Linked DNA regions of Homo sapiens: region 2 is linked to region 1. Evidence: promoter capture Hi-C in 16 types of primary human blood cells and fetal thymus (Javierre and others, 2016). All regions are on one chromosome and are shown on one strand. The core of a region is centred on a gene start or on the middle of the fragment in contact, and the rest is flanking DNA. Distances in the headings are between cores, read along the strand shown. Region 1 holds the start of CENPS (centromere protein S). Region 2 overlaps KIF1B (kinesin family member 1B).

Evidence for each region. Contacts are between HindIII fragments. The CHiCAGO score rates a contact against its expected background, and 5 or more counts as called.
Region 2: a contact is called between a fragment that was not itself captured here and the fragment with the promoter of CENPS in region 1, in 1 of 17 cell types (neutrophils). The highest score is 5.1, in neutrophils.

What each region holds. Positions count from the first base shown.
Region 1 is chr1:10,425,997-10,431,930 of GRCh38, forward strand. CENPS (centromere protein S) reads left to right here and starts at 4,437. Exons shown (of 5, transcript NM_199294.3): 1 at 4,437-4,572. The coding sequence starts at 4,522. CENPS-CORT (CENPS-CORT readthrough) reads left to right here and starts at 4,437. Exons shown (of 4, transcript NM_199006.3): 1 at 4,437-4,572. The coding sequence starts at 4,522. RefSeq lists enhancers at 1-515, 516-1,121, 5,035-5,084 and silencers at 2,076-2,370, 4,535-4,784. The HindIII fragment of the contact is 4,555 bases long and covers 3,421-5,934 here.
Region 2 is chr1:10,370,569-10,373,820 of GRCh38, forward strand. KIF1B (kinesin family member 1B) reads left to right here. Exons shown (of 49, transcript NM_001365951.3): 45 at 573-694. Among named protein-coding and RNA genes, the nearest start is that of PGD, 27 kb to the right of the region's middle. The HindIII fragment of the contact is 9,462 bases long and covers 1-3,252 here.

The DNA.
Region 1 (5,934 bases), core at 3,187-5,686:
TCTGGCCCCACCCACGTCCTGCTGATTGGTAGAGCCCAGTGGTCTGTTTTGACAGGGCGCTGACTGGTGCGTTTACAATCCCTGAGCTAGACACAAAGGTTCTCCAAGGCCCCACCAGAGTAGCTAGATACAGAGTGTCGATTGGTGCATTCACAAACCCTGGGCTAAACAAAGGGTGCTGATTGGTGTATTTACAAACCTTGAGCTAGATACAGAGTGCCGATTGGTGTATTTATAATCCCTGAGCTAGACATAAAGGTTCTCCTCCTCCCCACCAGACTCAGGAGCCCAGCTGGCTTCACCCAGTGGATCCTGCACCAGGCTGCAGGTGGAGCTGCCTGCCAGTCCTGCGCCATGCGCCCACACTCCCCAGCCCTTGGGTGGTCGATGGGACTGGGCGCCGTGGAGCAGGGGGCCACGCTCATCGGGGAGGCTCGGGCCACACAGGAGCCCACGGAGTGGGTGGGAGGCTCAGGCATGGCGGGCTGCAGGTCCCGAGCCCTGCCCCACAGGAAGGCAGCTAAGGCCCAGTGAGAAATCGAGTGCAGCGCCGGTGGGCTGGCACTGCTGGGGGACCCAGTACACCCTCCGCAGCCGCTGGCCTGGGTGCTAAGCCCCTCATTGCCCTGGGCGGGCAGGGCCAGCCGGCTGCTCCGAGTGCGGGGCCCGCCAAGCCCACGCCCACCCGGAACTCCAGCTGGCCCGCAAGCGCCGCGCGCAGCCCTGGTTCCCGCTTGCGCCTCTCCCTCCACACCTCCCTGCAAGCTGAGGGAGCCGGCTCTGGCCTTGGCCAGCCCAGAAAGGGGCTCCCACAGTGCAGCGGTGGGCTGAAGGGCTCCTCAAGTGCCACCAAAGTAGGAGCCCAGGCAGAGGAGGTGCCGAGAGCGAGCGAGGGCTTTAGGACTGCCAGCACGCTGTCACCTCTCACTAATCTCAAGTACCCAGGGACAGAAACACTGCGGAAGGCCGCAGGGACCTCTGCCTAGGAAAGCCAGGTATTGTCCAAGGTTTCTCCCCATGTGATAGTCTGAAATATGGCCTCGTGGGAGGGAAAGACCTGACCGTCCCCCAGCCCGACACCCGTAAAGGGTCTGTGCTGAGGAGGATTAGTAAAAGAGGAAGGAACGCCTCTTGCAGTTGAGACGAGAGGAAGGCATCTGTCTCCTGCCCGTCCCTGGGCAATGGAATGTCTCAGTATAAAACCCGATTGTATGTTCCATCTACTGAGATAGGGGAAAACCGCCTTAGGGCTGGAGGTGGGACAGGCGGGCAGCAATACTGCTCTTCAAGGCATTGAGATGTTTATGTGTACACATATCTAAAGCACAGCACTTAATTCTTTACCTTATCTATGGTGCAGAGACCTTTGTTCAAGTGTTTATCTGCTGACCTTCTCTCCACTATTATCCTATGATCCTGCCACATCCCCCTCTCCGAGAAACACCCAAGAATGATCAATAAATACTAAGGGAATTCAGGCCGGCGGGATCCTCCATATGCTGAACGCTGGTCCCCTGGGCCCCCTTATTTCTTTCTCTATACTTTGTCTCTGTGTCTTTTTCTTTTCCAAGTCTCTCGTTCCACCTAACGAGAAACACCCACAGGTGTGGAGGGGCAACCCACCCCTTCAAGTTTCGCTCTTGTTTGCCCAGGCTGGAGTGCAATGCACGATCTCAGCTCACCGCAAAACCTCCGCCTCCCAGGTTCAAGCGATTCTCCTGCCTCAGCCTCCCGAGTAGCTGGGATTACAGGCATGCACCACTACGCCTGGCTAATTTTGTATTTTTAGTAGAGACAGGGTTTCTCCATGTTGAGGCTGGTCTCGAACTCCTGACCTCAGGTGATCCGCCTGCCTCGGCCTCCCAAAGTGCTGGGATTATAGGCGTGAGCCACCACGCCCGGCTGAACTAAATATTTATGGAACCCTCCTTAATGCAGATGAAAAGGATTAAAGAAACCCACCAAGGTCTTTGTCTTATTTATGGTGAGGGCAGTGGATAAACCGGAAACTCGGAAACCAGCCTAATAATCAAATCTGGTCTCTATCACTTCCCAGTAGTTTAGCCTTGGGCAGAGTTCTTTCACCTGTTTCCTCATGTAAAATGGGGCTAACAGCACCTACTTTTGAGGGCAGATGAGATATTAAATGAGTGCCTAGAGCGAGGACAAGTGCAAAGTGCTCAGTGTCATGGCAACATTGCCAGCGGGCATCCCTGGCCTTGCTTCACGCTGTAGTGCAACACTGACATCTAGTGGCCAGATTATAGGGCTACTTCTTCATCAAGTAAGTTTCAACCAAATATTAATATATCCTTTTTTCATTATTTTTTTTAGAGACAGTGTCTCCCTCTGTCACCCTGGCTGGAAAACAGTGGGGCAATCACGGCTCACCATAGCCTTGAACTGGGCTCAAGTGATCCTCCTGCCTTGGTCTCCCTAAGTGTTGGGATTACAGGCTTGAACCACCACACCCAGTTCCATTTTCTGTAATGAATACCTCAACCCTCGACCTATTTCTCAGACCTTTTTTTTTGAGACAGAGTCTCGCTCTGTTGCCCAGGCTGGAGTGCTATGGTGCGATCTCAGCTCACTGCAACCTTCACCTCCCGGGTTCAAGCAATCCTCCTGCCTTAGCCTCCCAAGTGCTAGGATTACAAGCATGTGCCACCATGTCTGGCTAATTTTTGTATTTTTTGGTAGAGACAGGGTTTCATCATGTTGGCCAGGCTGGTCTTGAACTCCTCACCTCAAGTGATCTACCTGCCTCGGCCTCCCAAAGTGCAGGAATTACAGGTATGAGCCACTGCTCCTAGCCTCTGAGGCTCTTAAGTGCCTCTGTATTGCACACATGTCACTGGAATACTGTTCTTTAATCCTGGGAAGCAACTGCTTTAAAATGAGGGAACACACAGGTACAAAGCACAGGAACTTCCTGGGACGAATTGTTACAATTTCTTTAGCTCTTATGTGAGGCAATTGTTTAAAACCTGACACCTGCCCTGTGAAGTTGGAACTACTGTCCCCAGTTGATAAATAAGGGACATGAAGCTTGGCCACGTCCTGTGACTTGCTTGGGGTCACCAGGCTCAAGGGAGGGAGCTGGGCTTTGCAGCCACAGTGTGCTCTAAATGGGGCTGCTCACCAACCAGCGACCGGCCTTCTCTCCTGCTGCAGGCTTGGTCTCACTCTGGATGGCCTGCCCTGCCCAGCCCCATGCTGCCCATTAGGGGAATCCGTCAGAGGCTTGCCCTGCTTGGGCAGGAGGACTGTCCAGGTAGACTGGGATGCCCACAGAGAGCAGTGGACAGAGGCGAGAAGTGCCTGTCATTTCCAGATGCCACCCACTGAGCAGATGCAGAGGAAAGTCCTCAGAAGGCTGATTCCTCCAAAAAGCTTTGATCTGGGTTTCAGCCCCTGGCAAGCTTAGGGAACTTGAGGGACGTCCCTGGGAAAGGAAGACAAGGAGTGGCTTTATGTGCTTTCCTTCGTTCTGAAAGTAGCACCTGCTTGTGACAAATGCAGAATACAGAAATATAGGCAATAAAAAATAATAAAACAAAAACCTAGAAATACAGGCAGGGCATGGTGGCTCACACCTGTAATTCCAGCACTTTGGGAGGCTGAGGTGGGATGATTGTTTGAAGCCAGGAGTTTGATACCAGCCTGGGCAACATAGTGAGACCTGGTCTCTACAAAAAATAAAAATTAGCCAGGTGCGCTGATGCAGGCTTGTGGTCCCAGCTACTTGGGAGGCTGAAGTGGGAGGATCACCTGAGCCCAGGAGGTGGAGGTTACAGTGAGTCTTGGTGGTGCCACTGCACTCCAGCCTGGGCGGCAGAGTGAGACCCTGCCTCTCAAAAAACTACAATAAAAACAAACCAAAATTGGGTTTGATGGTCTCACTTCATCGTTAACATAAAGGAAAAACAGTAACACTTGTGTCAGAACTATACTCCTGCCAATGGCAACAACGCAGTTCCTGTTCCACTCGCTGAATGAGGTCACGGGTCGTTCACTCATTGTAGTCTTTGTGACGCTATTGTTGGTGATAGAATGATAAAGTTGATGGTCGATTTTGCAAGATACACCTGAGGTACAGGTGCATGGAGCTCCTGATAATGTGTACTGCGTTACATGATCTGTAAATCGTGGGCTACGCATCCTCTACACCCGACTGGAACACGCTTTGCACCTATGCGCACACGTGTTTCGCGGAGAGTGGTGCTCAGCGTTGTGCCAGGCGCTGAATCAGGCTCTGGGGTGCAGCAGTGACCTCGGTGGTCATGTCCCCGCGTCGCCCGGCCACCTCCGCAGAGCAAGCTGAGCAGGGGGCTGGCTGGAGGCCGACGGCGGAATCCCCTCAACGGAGCGCCGCCAGGGGGCGCGCGAGGCAGGGCGGAGCTGCGTACTTTGTCCGCCCGCGCGGCCCGTCGCTCGCGCCGCGGCGGGAAAATCCGACCTGGCCGCGCACCACCGCCCCTTCTCGGCCCTCCTGCGTTTGCCCAGGGTCGGCCCGCAGTGATGGAGGAGGAGGCGGAGACCGAGGAGCAGCAGCGATTCTCTTACCAACAGGTACAGGAAAACGGGGGTCGGGCTGGGCTGGGGCAGGACGGCGTCGAGTTTCTGGACAGAAAAGTACCCGGCAGCCCCCGGCGGCTTCTCATCGGCACCCCGCCCCCGGGCGCCCCCCGCGGCTGCGCATGCGTTGGCTTAACTGCCGCGGGTGGTGCTGGGAGGCGGTTTCCGCGGCAACGCGGCTGGACCCTGGCCTGCGCTGGCTGGGGAGGAAGCGGTTCTAGGGGAGCGTGCGGGCGCCGGGGTCCGGCGGCGAGAGGCCACCTTCTGGCCTTGCGATGAATCCTCGGTTTCCCCTTCTCAGATGGGGTTTTCGTGAGGGTACAACGTCGGCATTAGACATTCCAGGTGACGCCCGTACGCGGTGGGCGGTTCGGGCCGGAGCTCTGGAACGCTGGCCCTGGAGGCGTCGACCCCTCGTTACTGATGCAGGGACGCGGTGCGGACCAGTCAGGCCCAGAGCTCGTCCTTAGATGTGGGTTCGAATCTCTGCCCCGCCAACTTGTGATCGTATCGACTCGGCCCAGACGCAATTTTCTTCTCTGCAAAATCGTCATAAGAATAATCACTTGTCAGGGTAGCTGCGGGCATCCCATTCGTTCCTTTCATCAGCGCCGGGCATATGGGGCGTCAGAGGCTGAGAACGTTGCCGTGAAGAGGCTTAAAAGCAAGACCCGGAGTGGCGACCTTAAAGAGGACGGACTGAAGAAACGCGGGAATGAGCTCCAGACGCGGGAGTTTCCTCTCTACAAAGTTACACTGCAGCAGCTGTCTACCCTGCCCCTTGTCTTTTGAGAAGTTCAAACCTTCAGAAAAGTTGCAAGAACACGGTACAGAATGCCCAGATGCCCGTCACCTTGATTCACCACTAGTTAGCATTTTGCTCTGTTTGCTCCCATGCTTCCCTCCCAGCCCCGCGATTGGAGAATTAATTGCAGATATTTTGACACTTCGCCTTTACATTTTAATTCTTTAGTACACATCTCCCAAAAACAAGGCATTGGCTGGGCGCGGTGGCTCACGCCTGTAATTCCAGCACTTTGGGAGGCCGAGGTGGGCAGATCACTTGAGGTCAGGAGTTCGAGACCAGACTGGCCAACATGGAAACCCCCTCTCAACTAAAAGTACAAAAATTAGCCGAGTGTGGTGGCAGGTGCCTGTAATCCCAGCTACTCGGGACGTTGAGGCAGGGGAATCGCTTGAACCCGGGAGGCGGAGGTTGCAGTGAGCCGAGATCGCACCATTGCACTCCAGCCTGGGTGACAGAGCGAGACTCCATCTCAGAAAAAAAAAAAAAAAAGGCATTCTCCTACTACATCATTTCAATAAATTGTCCCACTCAGGAAGTGGGACAATTAA
Region 2 (3,252 bases), core at 1-2,500, 59 kb before region 1:
AGAAAATAATAATAATAATAATAATAAGAAGAAGAAGAAGAAGAAGACATAGCAAGACCTTATCTCGAGAAAGAAAATAATAATAATAATAATAATAATAATGACAACAATAATAATAATGCAGGAGGGCAGTAGGAACATAAAAAACCAACCTTGCCCCTTTTATAAATGTCTTGATTCCTGGTGTGGCACTTAGGCCGTAAAATATTTGTAGGCTTGTTTTTTTTCTTTTTTGAAAATATTTTCACCAGTTGTGGTGGTACACGCTTGTAGTCCCAGGTACTCAGGAAGCCAGGGCACAGGAGGATCGCTGGAGCCCAGGAGTTGGAGGCCACAGGAAGCTAGGATTGCATCACTGCCCTCCAGCCTGGGCAATAGAGCAAGGCCTTGTCTCTTAAAATTTTACCTATGTATTTATTTATTGATAAATTATGTATAGGCTTGTTTTCTTAAATGACCTTCTGAAACAAGATGTATCAAAGTGAGGTTCTGGTTGTTGAAACTCCCTATTGTTACTGTAGAGGCAGCTTTTTTCAGCTGAATGTAACTTGTAGTGTTCGGTTTGCTTCCAGTTGTCTGATATCTCTCCAATTGGACGGGATCCCTCTGAGTCCAGTTTCAGCAGTGCCACCCTCACTCCCTCCTCCACCTGTCCCTCTCTGGTAGACTCTAGGAGCAACTCTCTGGATCAGAAGTAAGTACCCAGATTTCACTGAGAGAAGTCAATCTAAGAACCAAGGTAAATGTCAACCTTCCTCTAGCTCAATGGTTCTTGACTGAAGGCAGCACCTTCTCCCTAGGCAGCATTTGGAAATGTGTGGGAGCCTTTTTGGCTATCACAGTGACTGGAGAGGTGCTAGCTACTGGCATCTCTTCACATCATAGCTTACTAACCTTCTGCATCATCAACTCATCATGACTGTCTTCTTCATCCCTTTCTGCTAGTTTTATCCTCCATTCCTACCCCTGCTTGTCTCCCCAGTCATAATACCAGACATAGGAAGTGCTATCTTGGGAAAAATATTTTGAAACTGTTTTGGAAAAAAATATTTTGATTCCACAGCAAATTATGTAGGTAAGAAAAATAAAGACAAGGCCAGGTGAGGTGGCTCCCAGCACTTTCGGATGCCAAGGCAGGAGGATTGCTTGAGGCTGGGAGTTCGAGACCAGGCTGGGCAACATAGCGATATGCTGTCTCTACAAAAAATAAATAAGATACCCAGGCGTGGTGGTCTGTGCCTGTGGTCCCAGCTACTCGGGAGGCTGAAGTGGGAGGATCGCTTGAATCCAGGAGTTCAAGGTTGCAGTGAGGTTTTATTATTGCACCACTGCATTCCACCCTGGGCGACAGAGCAAGACCCTGTCCCTAAAAAAAATAAAAAAAAGACAAATGTAGTCTAGAGTCCATGATTCATCATCATAATCCGTTCTTTGCAACACACCCTCTTGTGCATCTCCATCAATTATGCTCACCTGGTTATCATCCACCTGTCTATCTTATTGTACCAACACTGACACAGGCAAAGGTGGCTGGAGAAAATAACACAACCAGGTAATTTCATTAAATTTAGGATGCCACAGACTGTAGGGACTATTCTGTGCCACTAAGAGAAGAAGAAAAAGCACTGACAACTAACTTAAGCATGCCATCAATTATAAGATGAATCCCAATTTAAGAAATGGTGGCTGAGTGCAGTGGCTCATACCTGTAATCCCAGCACTTTCAGGGGCTGAGGTGGGAGGATTGCTTCAGCCCACAAGTTTGAGACCAGCCTGGGCAACATAGGGAGACCCCCATCTCTACAAAAAATAAATAAAATAGTTGGACATGATGGCATGCGCCTGCGGTTCCAGCTACTCAGGAGGCTCACATGGGAGGATTGCTTGAGCCCGGGAGGTTGAGGCTGCAATGAGCCATGGTTGCACCATTGCACTCCAGCCTGGGTGACAGAGCAAGAAATCAGCCAGGCATAGGGGCATGTACCTGTAATCCCAGCTACTGGGGAGGCTGAGGCAGGAAGATTGGTTGAACCTGGGAGGCGGAGGTTGCAGTGAGCCGAGATTGCGCCGCTGCGCGCCAGCTTGGGTGACAGAGCTGTCACCCAAGCTGGCGCGCAGCGGCGCAATCTCGGCTCACTGCAAGCTCCGCCTCCCAGGTTCACGCCATTCTCCTGCTTCAGCCTCCCGAGTAGCTGGGACTACAGGTGCCCGCCACCACACCCAGCTAATTTTTTATTTTATTTTATTTATTTATTTACTTTTGAGATGGAGTTTTGCTCTCGTTGCCCACGCCAGAGTGTAGTGGTGCAATCTTGGCTCACTGCAACCTCCACCTTCCAGCTTCAAGTGATTCTCCTGCCTCAGCCTCCAAAGTAGCTGGGATTACAGGCACCCGCCACCATGCCCAGCTATTTTTTTTTTTATTTTTAGTAGAGATCGGGTTTCACCATTTTGGTCAGGCTAGTCTCAAACTGCTGACCTTATGATCCACCCGCCTCGACCTCCCAAAGTGCTGGGATTACAGGCGTGAGCCACTGCACCCGGCCACACCCAGCTAATTTTTTGTATTTTTAGTAGAGATGGGGTTTCACCGTGTTAGCCAGGATGGTCTTGGTCTCCTGACCTCATGATCTGCCAGCCTCAGCCTCCCAAAGTGCTGGGATTACAGGCGTGAGCCACTGCGCCGGCCTTTTTTTTTTTTTTTTGAGACAGAGTCTCACTCTGTCGCCCAGGCTGGAGTGCTGCAACCTCTGCCTCCCGGGTTCAAGTAATTCTCGTGCCTCAGCCTCCTGGGTAGCTGGGATTACAGGGGCCTGCCACCACGCCCAGCTAATTTTTGTATTTTTAGTAGAGACGGGGTTTCGCCATGTTGGTCAGGCTGGTCTCAAACTCCTGACCTCAGGTGATCTGCCTACCTCGGCCTCCCAAAGTGCTGGGATTACAGGTGTGAGCCACTGCACCTGGCTAACTTGATTTCAAAAAAAAAAAAGAATGAAGTATGAGAAAAAGTTAAAATGGGCTTTTTAGATTTAGTGAGATACAATGCTATGTTACTCTACAAAGATATCTAGCAATACAGAGTATAGGAATTTATTTCTCACACAGTAGTCAAGAGGGCTGGTCCAGGTCCAGGTCAGTGGTGCAGGTCTTCTCTGCACAGCCGTTCAGGAACCCTGGGTCTTCCCATTTGTTTGCTTTTTCTGCCATTTTCTAAGGCAGTGGGCCTCTGAGACTTCAGTGTACATCATCATC